Linked DNA regions of Homo sapiens: region 1 is linked to region 2. The links are contacts of gene promoters, found by promoter capture Hi-C in human tissues and cell types (Jung and others, 2019). All regions are on one chromosome and are shown on one strand. Each heading gives the region's core, a stretch centred on a gene start or on the middle of the fragment in contact. The rest is flanking DNA. Distances are from core to core; before and after follow the strand shown.

What was found. Contacts are between HindIII fragments. The study calls those that stand out against the background at their distance.
Region 1: a contact is called between a fragment that was not itself captured here and the fragment with the promoter of BBS9 in region 2, in 1 of the 25 tissues and cell types used here (spleen).

The regions. Positions count from the first base shown.
Region 1 is chr7:32,837,606-32,844,058 of GRCh38, reverse strand. It overlaps the pseudogene DPY19L1P2. Among named protein-coding and RNA genes, the nearest start is that of KBTBD2, 51 kb to the left of the region's middle. The HindIII fragment of the contact is 4,977 bases long and covers 1,593-6,453 here.
Region 2 is chr7:33,125,431-33,131,899 of GRCh38, reverse strand. BBS9 (Bardet-Biedl syndrome 9) reads right to left here and starts at 2,336. Exons shown (of 23, transcript NM_198428.3): 1 at 1,859-2,336. RefSeq lists enhancers at 2,274-2,383, 2,874-2,923 and a silencer at 2,434-2,733. The HindIII fragment of the contact is 11,941 bases long and covers 1-4,590 here.

The sequences.
Region 1 (6,453 bases), core at 2,832-5,331, 290 kb after region 2:
GAGAGAGAGCGAGAGAGAGAAAGAGACATGATAATGCCACATGGCTGGAAGTTAAGGGAATTTCCTAACCACAAGGCCCAAGAGTTTGGATTAATAATGGGCAGGAAAAGCTTCATTAACAGGAGAACAGAGAACAAAAAGAGCACAAGGAAGCAAAACAGACAGATAGTTCCGCAAAGCAAACACTCCATGTCTGCCCCATCTACTGTAACTCAAGTTGATGACAGGGGCTGACATGACCGAAGAACTTACAATCACTGAAATGTCCAAAAGACAAGAGCAAGAGGCAGAAAAAAGAAGCAAGGGGCATTAATAGTTCTTACACTATAAAATCAGCCCCTACATTGTCAGAATTGTCCTGTATTTTCACGTCATCCTTGTCACAACTCATTGTGTTTTCTTTATATAGATAACTTTGCTCACTTTAGCACAAATATGGAAGTCAAGTACAAGCATATACTCATTTGCATAGCAAATTTTAAAGGGGGCATTGAAATAGTAACCAATTGATAAAGGTATTGTCAGGCCTCTGAGCCCAGGCCAGGCCATCGCATCCCCTGTGACTTGCACATATACATCCATATGGCCTAAAGTAACTGAAGATCCACAAAAGAAGTAAAAACAGCCTTAACTGATGACATTCCACCATTGTGATTTGTTCCTGCCCCACCCTAACTGATCAATGTACTTTGTAATCTCCCCCACCCTTAAGAAGGTTCTTTGTAATTCTCCCCACACTTGAGAATGTACTTTGTGAGATCCACCCCTGCCCACCAGAGAACAACCCCCTTTGATTGTAATTTTCCATTACCTTCCCAAGTCCTATAAAACGGCCCCACCCTTATCTCCCTATGCTGACTCTCTTTTCGGACTCAGCCCACCTGCACCCAGGTGAAATAAACAGCCATGTTGCTCACACAAAGCCTGTTTGGTGGTCTCTTCACATGGACGCGCATGAAATTTGGTGCCGTGACTTGGATCGGGGGACCTCCCTTGGGAGATCAATCCCCCCTCCTTCTGCTCTTTGCTCCATGAGAAAGATCCACCTACGACCTCAGGTCCTCAGACAGACCAGCCCAAGAAACATCTCACCAATTTCAAATCCGGTAAGCGGCCTCTCTTTACTCTCTTCTCCAACTTCCTTCACTATCCGTCAACCTCTTTCTCCTTTCAATCTTGGTGCTACACTTCAATCTCTCCCTTCTCTTAATTTCAATTCCTTTCATTTTCTGGTAGAGACAAAAGAGACACGTTTTATCCGTGGACCCAAAACTCCGGCGCCGGTCACGGACTGGGAAGGAAGTCTTCCCTTGGTGTTTAATCATTGCAGGGACGCCTCTCTGATTATACACCCACGTTTCAAGGGTGTCAGACCACGCAGGGACGCCTGCCTTGGTCCTTCACCCTTAGCGGCAAGTCCCACTTTTCTGGGGAAAGGGCAATTACCCCAACCCCTTCTCTCCTTGTCTCTACCCCTTCTCTGCTTTCCTGGGGAATGGCCAAGTACCCCAACCCCTTCTCTCCTTGTCTCTACCCCTTCTCTGCTTTCCTGGGGCAGGGGCAAGTACCCCTCAACCCCTTCTCCTTCACCCTTAGTGGCAAGTCCCGCTTTTCTAGGGGGAAAGAACCCCCAAACCCCTTCCCTTCATGTCTCTACGTTCTCTTTTCTCTGGGTTTGCTTCCTTCAATATAGGCAACCTTCCACCCTCCATTCCTCCCTCTTCTCCCTTAGCCTGTGTGCTCAAGAACTTAAAACCTCTTCAACTTACACCTCACCTAAAACCTAAACACCTTATTTTCTTCTGCAACACCGCTTGGCCCCAATACAAACTCGACAGTAGTTCCAAATAGCCGGAAAATGGCACTTTGAATTTTTCCATCCTACAAGATCTAAATAATCCTTGTCGTAAAAGGGTCAAATGGTCTGAGGTGCCTGACATCCAGGCATTCTTTTACACATCAGTCCCTTCCTAGTCTCTGTGCCCAGTGCAACTCGTCCCAAATCTTCCTTCTTTCCCTCCCGCCTGTCACCTCAGTCCCAACCCCAAGCATCACCAAGTGTTTCTAATCTTCCTTTTCTACAGACCCATCTGACCTCTCCCCTCCTCGCCAGTCCAAGCTAGGTCCCAATTCTTCCTCAGCCTCCGCTCCTCCACCCTGTAATCTTTTTATCGCCTCCCCTCCTCACACCTGGTCCGGCTTACAGTTTCGTTCTGTGACTAGCCCTCCCCCACCTGCCCAGCAATTTACTCTTAAAAAGGTGGCTGGAGCCAAAGGCATAGTCAAGGTTCATGCTCCTTTTTCTTTATCCCAAATCAGAAGCGTTTAGGCTCTTTTTCATCAAATATAAAAACCCAGCCCAGTTCATGGCTCGTTCAGCAGCAACCCTGAGATGCTTTACAGCCCTAGAAACTAAAAGGTCAAAAGGCCATCTTATTCTCAATATACATTTTATTACCCAATCTGCTCCCGACATTAAATAAAACTCCAAAAATTAAATTCCGGCCCTCAAACCCCACAACAGGATTTAATTAACCTCGCGTTCAAGGTGTACAATAATAGAAAAAAGTTGCAATTCCTTGCCTCCACTGTGAGACAAATCCCAGCCACATCTCCAGCACACAAGAACTTCCAAACGCCTGAACCGCAGCGGCCAGGCGTTCCTCCAGAACCTCCTCCCCCAGGAGCTTGCTACAAGTGCCAGAAATCTGACCACCAGGCCAAGGAATGCCTGCAGCCCAGGATTCCTCCTAAGCCGTGTCCCATCTGTGTGGGACCCCACTGGAAACCGGACTGTTCAACTCACCTGGCAGCCACTCCCGGAGCCCCTGGAACTCTGGCCCAAGGCTCTCTGACTGACTCCTTCTCGGCTTAGCGGTTGAAGACTCATGCTGCCCGATCGCCTCAGAAGCCCTGTAGACCATCACGGACGCCGAGCTTTGGGTAACTCTCACAGTGGAAGATAAGTCCGTCCCCTTCTTAATCAATACGGAGGCTACCCACTCCACATTACCTTCTTTTCAAGGGCCTGTTTCCCTTGCCTCCATAACTGTTGTGGGTATTGACGGCCAAGCTTCAAAACCCCTGAAAACTCCCCCACTCTGGTGCCAACTTGGACAACACTCTTATGCACTCTTTTTTAGTTATCCCCACCTGCCCAGTTCCCTTATTAGGCCGAGATATTTTAACCAAATTATCTGCTTCCCTGACTATTCCTGGACTACAGCTGCATCTCATTGCCACCCTTCTCCCCAGCCCAAAGCCTCCTTTGCATCTTCCTCTCATATCCCCCCACCTTAACCCACAAATATGGGACATCTCTACTCCTTCCCTGGCAACCGATCACATGCCCATTACCATCCCGTTAAAATCGAATCACCCTTACCCTGCTCAACGCCAATATCCCATCCCACAGCATGCTTTAAAAGGATTAAAGCCTGTTATCACTCGCCTGCTACAGTATGGGCTTCTAAAACCTATAAACTCTCCTTACCATTCCCCCATTTTACCTGTCCTAAAACCAGACAAGGCTTACAAGTTAGTTCAGGATCTGCGCCTTATCAACCAAATTGTTTTGCCTATCCACCCCATGGTGCCCAACCCATATATTCTCCTATCCTCAATACCTCCCTCTATTACCCATTATTCTGTTCTGGATCTCAAACATGCTTTCTTTACTATTTCTTTGCACCCTTCATCCCAGCCTCTCTTTGCCTTCACTTAGACTGACCCTGACACCCATTAGGCTCAGCAAATTACCTGGGCTGTACTGCCGCAAGGCTTCACAGACAGCCCCCATTACTTCAGTCAAGCCCAAATTTCATCCTCATCTGTTACCTATCTCAGCATAATTCTCATAAAAACGCACATGCTCTCCCTGCTGATCGTGTCCGATTAATCTCCCAAACCTCAATCCCTTACAAAACAACAACTCCTTTCCTTCCTAGGCATGGTTAGCATGGTCAGAATTCTTACACAAGAGCCAGGACCACACCCTGCAGCGTTTCTGTCCAAACAACTTGACCTTACTGTTTTAGCCTAGCCCTCATGTCTGCATGCAGCGGCTGCCGATGCTTTAATACTTCTAGAGGCCCTAAAAATCACAAACTATGCTCAACTCACTCTACATTTCTCATAACTTCCGAAATCTTTTTCTTCCTTATACCTGACGCATATACTTTCTGCTCCCCAGCTCCTTCAGCTGTACTCACTCTTTGTTAAGTCCCACAATTACCATTGTTCCTGGCCCGGACTTCAATCTGGCCTCCCACATTATTCCTGATACCACACCTGACCCCCATGACTGTATCTCTCTGATCCACCTGACATTCACCCCATTTCCCCATATTTCCTTCTTTCCTGTTCCTCACCCTGATCACGCTTGATTTATTGATGGCAGTTCCACCAGGCCTAATCGCCACACACCAGCAAAGGCAGGCTATGCTATAGCACAAGCCACTATCCCGCCTCTTAGAACCTCTCATTTCCTTTCCATCGTGGAAATCTATCCTCAAGGAAATAACTTCTCAGTGTTCCATCTGCTATTCTACTACTCCTCAGGGATTATTCAGGCCCCCTCCCTTCCCTACACATTAAGCTCGCTCAATTCATCCAAAACCGTATCCAGGCCATCACCAATCATTCTATACGACAAATGTTTCTTCTAACATCCCCACAATATCACCCCTTACCACAAGACCTCCCTTCAGCTTAATCTCTCCCACTCTAGGTTCCCACGCCACCCCTAATCCCGCTTGAAGCAGCCCTGAGAAACATCACCCATTCTCTCTCCATACCACCCCCCAAAAATTTTCGCCGCCCCAACACTTCAACACTATTTTGTTTTATTTGTCTTATTAATATAAGAAGGCAGGAATGTCAGGCCTCTGAGCCCAGGCCAGGCCATCGCATCCCCTGTGACTTGCACGTATACATTCAGATGGCCTAAAGTAACTGAAGATCCACAAAAGAAGTAAAAACAGCCTTAACTGATGACATTCCACCATTGTGATTTGTTCCTGCCCCACCCTAACTGATCAATGTACTTTGTAATCTCCCCCACCCTTAAGAAGGTTCTTTGTAATTCTCCCCACACTTGAGAATGTACTTTGTGAGATCCACCCCTGCCCACCAGAGAACAACCCCCTTTGATTGTAATTTTCCATTACCTTCCCAAATCCTATAAAATGGCCCCACCCTTATCTCCCTATGCTGACTCTCTTTTTGGACTCAGCCCACCTGCACCCAGGTGAAATAAACAGCCATGTTGCTCACACAAAGCCTGTTTGGTGGTCTCTTCACACGGACGCGCATGAAAGGTATGAGTCATTTTTATAATTAGAATGACATTCAAATTGACCAAATAAAACATTTTCTATTTGAAAACAGTTACCTATAAAAGTTTTTGGGATATGAACAACACATGACTTAGCAAAACATTAAAACCATTAGAGATGTAGTTCTCCGTAGGCAGCAGGTCATGTAGCAGTCATTCTTTTACAACTTCTAGGACTTTGTAAACACTGTTCTGGAATACAGTGGTGAAGTGAGGTTTGGAATCCTTCACCAAGAGGTTACATAAGGGAGTTTTCCCAGCATTGGCAGGATCTTCTACATCCCAAATTTCAGGCATACTGCAACCAGGCCTAGAAAAATGAATGTACATGTTAAAAATCAGTATGCATTATATAACTGCAGAGAAAGCAGGGCACTTCTTACATTCCTGATCTCATTTCCTTTTTTCCCCTTAAATTACTTTAGTTTTTAAACAATCCTGTCATGTAGCTTTCATGCGCGTCCATGTGAAGAGACCAACAAACAGGCTTTGTGTGAGCAATAAAGCTTTTAATCACCTGGGTGCAGGCGGGCTGAGTCCGAAAAGAGAGTCAGCGAAGGGAGATGGGGTGGGGCCCTTCTGTAGGATTGGGGTAGGTAAAGGAAAAAGGGGGGTTTTTCTCCGGTGGGCAGGAGTGGGGGTCACAAGGTACTCAGTTGGGGAGCTTTTGAGCCAGGATGAGCCAGGAGAAGGAATTTCACAAGACAATGTCATCAGTTAAGGCAGGAACAGGCCATTTTCACTTCTTTTGTGGTGGAATGTCATCAGTTAAGGCAGGAACCCACCATCTGGATGTGTACATGCAGGTCACAGGGGATACGATGGCTTAGCTTGGGCTCAGAGACCTGACATTCCTGTCTTCTTATATTAATAAGAAAAATAAAATGAAATAGTGGTAAAGTGTTGGGACGGCAAAAATTTTTGGGGGTGGTATGGAGAGATAATGGGCGATGTTTCTCAGGGCTTCTTTGAGCGGGATTAGGGGTGGCGTGGGAACCTAGAGTGGGAGAGATTAAGCTGAAGGAAGATTTTGTGGTAAGGGGTGATATTGTGGGGTTGTTAGAAGAAACATTTGTCATTTAGAATTATTGGTGATGACCTGGATACAGTTTTGTATG
Region 2 (6,469 bases), core at 1,087-3,586:
ACAAGTTTACTCAGATTTAGGTTTCATTTAAGAGGTGGCTGACCTTTTTTTGCTGACCTTCTGAATTTAATTTGCTATTGTTCTTTTTTTAATATTTTAAAAAGTTTTAATAATTTTTATTTTTTCTGCCATGCTCGGCAAAGACGAGGTCTCACTATGTTGCCCAGGCTGGTCTTGAACACCTCATTGACCTAGTCCTACAATATGATCAGCTGTGAAAACAATAACCCCAAAGAATGCTGTGGAAAAAACATACAGGTTTGAAGGTCAGTTCTGGAAACAGACCTTGCAGCTGTTGTTCATTTTCAGAGCTTTGCTTTCTCCAGGTTATGCCAGTGTCACACCAAATTTAAGAAAGTAGAAATCAGGTCTTCCAGTCAAAGAAAGATGACAAATGCATGTAGTGTTCAAAAGAAGTATACTGCTTTTGAAGGCAATAATACAAGGGCTCACTGTTGGAATTTTCAACAAAAGACTCAAAGGGCAAAATAACACAAAATTTGGAGTAGGACAGCTCTGGGTGCACTTTCTGACCACGTTACACTACATGATCTTAAACAAGTCCCTTATCCTCTAGTATCTCAATTGTTCTAGGGTGGAGGAGGATAAAATGGCTCAACCCATAGCAAGTACTCAATAGATGTCAGTAATAACCCAACAGTAGAAACAGTGCTAGTAGGAGAGACAGTGGTAGTAGTGGTAGTTGAAAGAGACGGTGGTAGTGTGTTCTGTGCAAGACACAATTACGAATGCCAAACTCACCCTCTGGACCGAAATTTTAAATGGGACTCACAAAGACTGATAGTAATCACTAATGGAAATGTTATTAACCAGCAGGGATGTTTTATAATAATTTCATGTATTTTAATAATTTTCAAAAATATTTCAAAGTATTCTAAAGCGTAAGACTTACTACATCCCTCAAAAGGTGTAAAAGTTTTAAAATTACTATATATACTATTGCTGTTGGATTTTTTCCCTTCAGTGAGCATTTCTATCAAGAAGTTGTACCATAAATATAAGTGTATAGTTGTAATTTAACCACGACAATTACACACAAGGAAAAATCCCTTAAACTCTGACAAATAACTTGTAACTTATTTTCAAAATAAAGTTTTTTAAAATTCTTCTTTAAAAACTTCTGGGTTTTCTAGTTTTTTTTTTAATTCTTCCGTATATTCATGAAAAAAATCTCAGTAATTGTTTTCTTTATAAAATGCTAATAAGTTAGAAAATCTTTCTCTGAATGCTGGCCAACTTAAGACCCATAGCTTATCCTGCAGCATCTTTCAAGTTGTTTATCAATGAGGACATGTAAGATGTGTATACCTGTAAGATACGGTTTCATTTTTAAAGTAAAAGTGAGATACCCAAAAAAATACATTTCTCCAGGAAATTGAAGTCAAAGGCAGGATTTGACTGGCAGGAGGTGCTGATAAAATCAGCGCAGCTCATCTAAACTGTTGTGGTCTCCAAGTAACAAGAGGAGAAACAATAATCCTATTACTAGAAGGATTGGGGGTATTAGTACATGCATCCTACTTCAGTCGTAGGCTGGGAACTGCTTTGCCCATTTACTCACAGACCTGTTGAAGTGTCTCAGGAGGATGCTCATGCTCCAAGTGACATTCCTCAATGGAATCCTTAAAAATTCTCATCCCTTTTTTCTCAAAAGTACTCACAGAATCTCATACACTTTGTGCTCCTAGTGTTTGTTTATTTCAGTGCAAACATCTAAGAAATCAATCACCTTACAGACTCCAAACCATTATACTGCATTAGAGAATCTTGTTCACAAAATAAAACATGGAAAGGGTATTCATGTACCCGAAGTTTAACAACAGACATACCATCTTACCTGATGCCACGTCAGATGAGCTCTGCCCCACCTTTCTGCGAACCCTCGTTCGGCAAATTTTGCTTTATGAACGCCTGACAAGGTCCCAGTGATGGAGCAGAGGGAGCAAGAACGGACGGTGCAGAGAAAAGCAACCTTTAGCTTCACTATTCCCTCTCGTCCTCCAGCTGAAAGTTGTTCCACGTCCCGGGCAAAGAGAGAGCCCCACCAGGCAGCACCACCAGCTCCACAGAGTTGGAGTGATTCCCCCAAGAAGCTCCCCTGCGCCCCCCGTCACCCCCAGAGACCAGCAGAGGAAACGGCATCTATCCCTTGGAAGACACTAGGCAGGCGAGAACAAATGCAAGTCCTGCTGCTCACACCGAGGAGGAAAGGATGGAGGAGGCGGTGAATGGGATGTAGCAGAAACCCGACGGCCGCAGCGGAAGGGACACCTCCCCTCTCCAGCCTAACTCTGAGCCATCTTCGCCCTGTTGTCATAGCACTTACAACGGACGCCACTGCGCAGGTCACGCCGTGCCGCGCCGACTTCTGGGGGCTGGAGTCCAGAGAGGCTGAGGCGCAAAGGCGGGGACCGACTTCTGAGAGGGCCGCGGTTGGAATTAGATTGCTACTGGGGCGGGGCTCGAGTGAACCACGGCCTGGTCCTCATTAGCAGAGAGTGATAATTACTGCAATCCTCTGCCCTGTCCTGGCAGCAGTTCCTTAAGGAAGACCCTCCTCCTGCCTGGGCTCCGGGGGCAGGCCACGCCCCCCCGGCCGCGTGACCGCCCTCTCCCCTCGGTGCGTGTGGGTGGGGCCTAGTGGGGGCGGGGCGTCACTGGCTTGTCCATGGTGCTCTGGGATCCTGCGCTTCTGAGAGTCCCAATCGCGGTGTTTTTTTCCTGCCGGGACACTCATGAGGGCCCCGTCCATGCACCGCGCGACCGTGGCGAGGGTGGTCGCGGTAGCGAGCGCCAGCGTGTGCGCCCTGGTGGCGGGGGTGGTGCTGGCCCAGTACATATTCACCTTGGAGAAGAAGGCGAGGCGGAAGACCAAGATCATCGAGATGATGAAGCTTTTGAACAGTTTCCAGTTTTTCCTTTTTTTACTATTTGAAACAGCGCTGCTTTGAAGTTACTTGTGCCTGCGTCCTGATACACATGTGTTAAATATATTTTCCGTATATACCTTAGAGTGCATTTCCTGGTATATGGGATTGGATCTATGTCTTCTTTTGTTTTTTACTTATTTTTTTTTAATCTTTACATTCAAATTCAATGTAGCCAACCTTGAAGTTTTTCTTGTTTGCTTTTTTCAATGGATTCTAGTGTAGGCTTTAAATTTCCAGTATTTCACCATCAATCCACAAATCCACATTCCCAGTAGAAAATACCATTCTAGTTTTAGTTTTTTGGGTTTTGGGTTTTTTTTTTTTTTTTAACTGAGACTGGGTCTCCCTGACAGGGTCGCCTAGACTGGAGTGCAGTGACAGGATCACTGCTCACTGAAGCACTGAAGCCTCAGCCTCCCGGGCTCAAACGATTCTCCCACCTTAGCCTTCCTAGTAAGCTGGGACTACAGGCACAGACCACCACACCTGGCTAATTTTTGTATTTTTTGTAGAGATGGAGTTTCGCCATGTCCAGGTTGCTCTCGAACTCCTGGGTTCAAACGATCCACCCACCTCAGTCCCCCAAAGTGCTGGGATTGCTGGCGTGAGCCACCGCGTCCGGCCTCAATATTTTTAAAAATGACCTTTCAGTCAAAGCCTTGGTAATATAACCAGTTTCCAATTGTATTCTGCTATACAGAGAGAGCAGATTTTTATTAGACTTATTGAAATGACCATATTACCATAAGAAGACTCACAAATGGTTTTCTAATTATGGAGGAATCAAGTAAAGAGAAAAAAAGTTTTTATCTTTTTTTACACAAGTATACTCTATCAAATTGCTGTAAATTATAAATAGCTTAAAAGACAAGATTTTCTTAAATCTGGAAAAAACTATTTGAGTAAAGAACCAACAACATTTGAAATAATATCATAAAAACATTGTCTTCATTAGTTAAACTCACGTAATTAATTCTTGTTCTGCCTGATCTTGATTAATAGTTTCATGAACCCACTTTTTTATTACAGTTCTGGAAATTGTTATATTGTCCATTGATCTTCAAGTTGTTAGAAACCCAAATCTAAGAGTATATTTTAGGGCCAGGCACAATGGTTCATGCCGGTAATCCCAGCAATTTGGGAGGCCAAGGCGGGAGGATCATTTGAGGCCAGGAGTTGGAGAAAAGCCTGGCCAATATAGTGAAACCCCATCTCTACTAAAAATACAAAAAATTAACCCAGCGTGGTAGCGCATGCCTGTAATCCCAGCTACTCAGGAGGCTGAGGCATGAGAATCACTGGAACCAGGGAGGCAGAGGTTGCAATGAACCAGGATCGTGCCACTGCACCCCAGCCTGGGCATCAGAGCAAGATTGTCTCAAAAATAAATAAATAAAAATAAAAGAGTACTTGTTAGAATATTTTCCAGGAGTCTGTTTTTTAAAAAAGAATTCAAAACAATAATATGGATGACAAAAACTTAAAATAGCCATGGTTAAAAATCTGATGAAGTTAACAACTGAGAAGAACATTTATTTATTGCTATTATATACAGTATTTTAAGATAACCAGAATTATGACTGGTAATATAATACATTTGTACGAATTTTTTTTAAAGATGGGGTCTTGCTCTATTGCCCAGGCTAGAGTGCAGTGGCACATTCATAGCTGACTGCAATCTCAAACTCCTGGACTCAAGCAATCCTTCTGCCTCAGCCTCTCAAGTAGCTGGGACTACACGTTTGTACCACCATGCTTGGTTTTTTTTTGGTTTTTTTTGTTTTTGTTTTGTTTTGTTTTGTTTTAATAGAGACAGGGTCTTGTTTTGTTGCCCAAGCTGGACACAAATTCCTGGCTATAAGTAATCCTCTGACCTCAGCCTCCCAAAGTGTTGGGATTATAGGCATGAGCCATCATTCCCAGCATACTTGTATGGACTTATATAATTTTTCAAACATTCATATAAACAATATTCCCATAAATGCAAATAAAAGAAAAATCTAGTATCAGTTATCGTTTGACAATATTTCTTATAAAATTTACCAAATAACCCAAATCATTTAATACCTCTAAAAGATGAGAAAGATATGTTTTAATGCTTTCCAGGAGTCCAACTGGAAAATTCCAAAGTTAATTCTACATTTAAAAAACTTAAATTGGAATTTGATTTTGAGGAAGTTTTTAAAGGGCTCAAAACACTGTATCAATACAGAATCACAAGTTACTTGTGAAATAAGTCATTTATATAACCAGAGTGATAATCAAAAGGCTTAAAAAGCCATACAAATAATTACATTAAAACTATCTTAACCATTTTAAACTTCAGGTTAAAAAAAAATCAAATCTAATAAAAGCAACACAGGAAATTATGTTGATAAAATGTATAATCTTCCTTAGGCCAGGTACCAAAAAAGTAAAGAAAAACTTTCTGCAATGTGATTGTTTCTCCTTTTGGGGAGCTCATTTAGATAACCTGGAGGTCGAATCTGATGAAAAGGGTACTTGAATTTAATCAGATACAGGAAGATGTGTCCCAGGTCATGATTATAACAATTCACATGTATCAAGAAAAGCCAAGAGTACAGAATCAAGTTATATTGAAAAAGAGCATTGATTTCTAGGCCTTCAGGATAAACCTTTAGTGTCAGGCCATACCAGCAATTAGAACCAAAAAAAAAAAATTGTATAGCAACTGATGAAAAAATTGAAGGAGAGAGTTACCATCCCAGGCTTTCTAAAGAGGAGAAAACCTGAATGCAATGATATATGACCTGGAAATCAAATAGCAAGACATGGCAAATTTGAACCACTGAGATACGAAATCTGAGAAATTTCAAAAGCAAAACTCTACCTCAAGAAATGATATTACCAGACGGGTGCAATGTCCATAATCCAAGCACTTTGGGAGGCCGAGGTGGGCAGATCGTTTGAGCCCAGGAGTTCGAGACCAGCCTGGGCAACATGACAAAATCCTGTCTCTACAAAAAATACAAAAATTAGCCGGGCGTGGTTACGTGTGCCTTTAATCTCAGCTACTAAGGGGGCTGAAGTTGGAGGACTGCTTGAGCCCAGTAGGTCAAGACTGCAGTGAGCCATGATCGTGCAACTACACTCCAGCCTGCATGACAGAGTGAAACCCTATCTCAAAAAAAAAAGCAAAGAAATTATTATTTTAAATGAAGAAGACAGCATTTTTAATGTGAAACTAGGGAAATTAAATGAATCTCAGTGAAAAAAGGTGGCAGAAATAGAAACTGCCTGCAGTTTAGGGGATAGCAGTTAAAGAAATAGATTTTAGAATTCAAAATGAAAGCTTCTTACAATTTTATCAGGAGCAGATCAATACTTCAAGAAAATGTTGTTTTAAAAATGGAGGACCAGGCTCTGGTCCTGTATCAGTGCACCTCCAACATTAATGTTTAAATTTTAGAAAACCACTTATAAACTATTTATTTTTAATTCTGGCCAACCTGATCATTCATAAAAGTTTTCTCACAGGCCTATTATTCATAAATGCT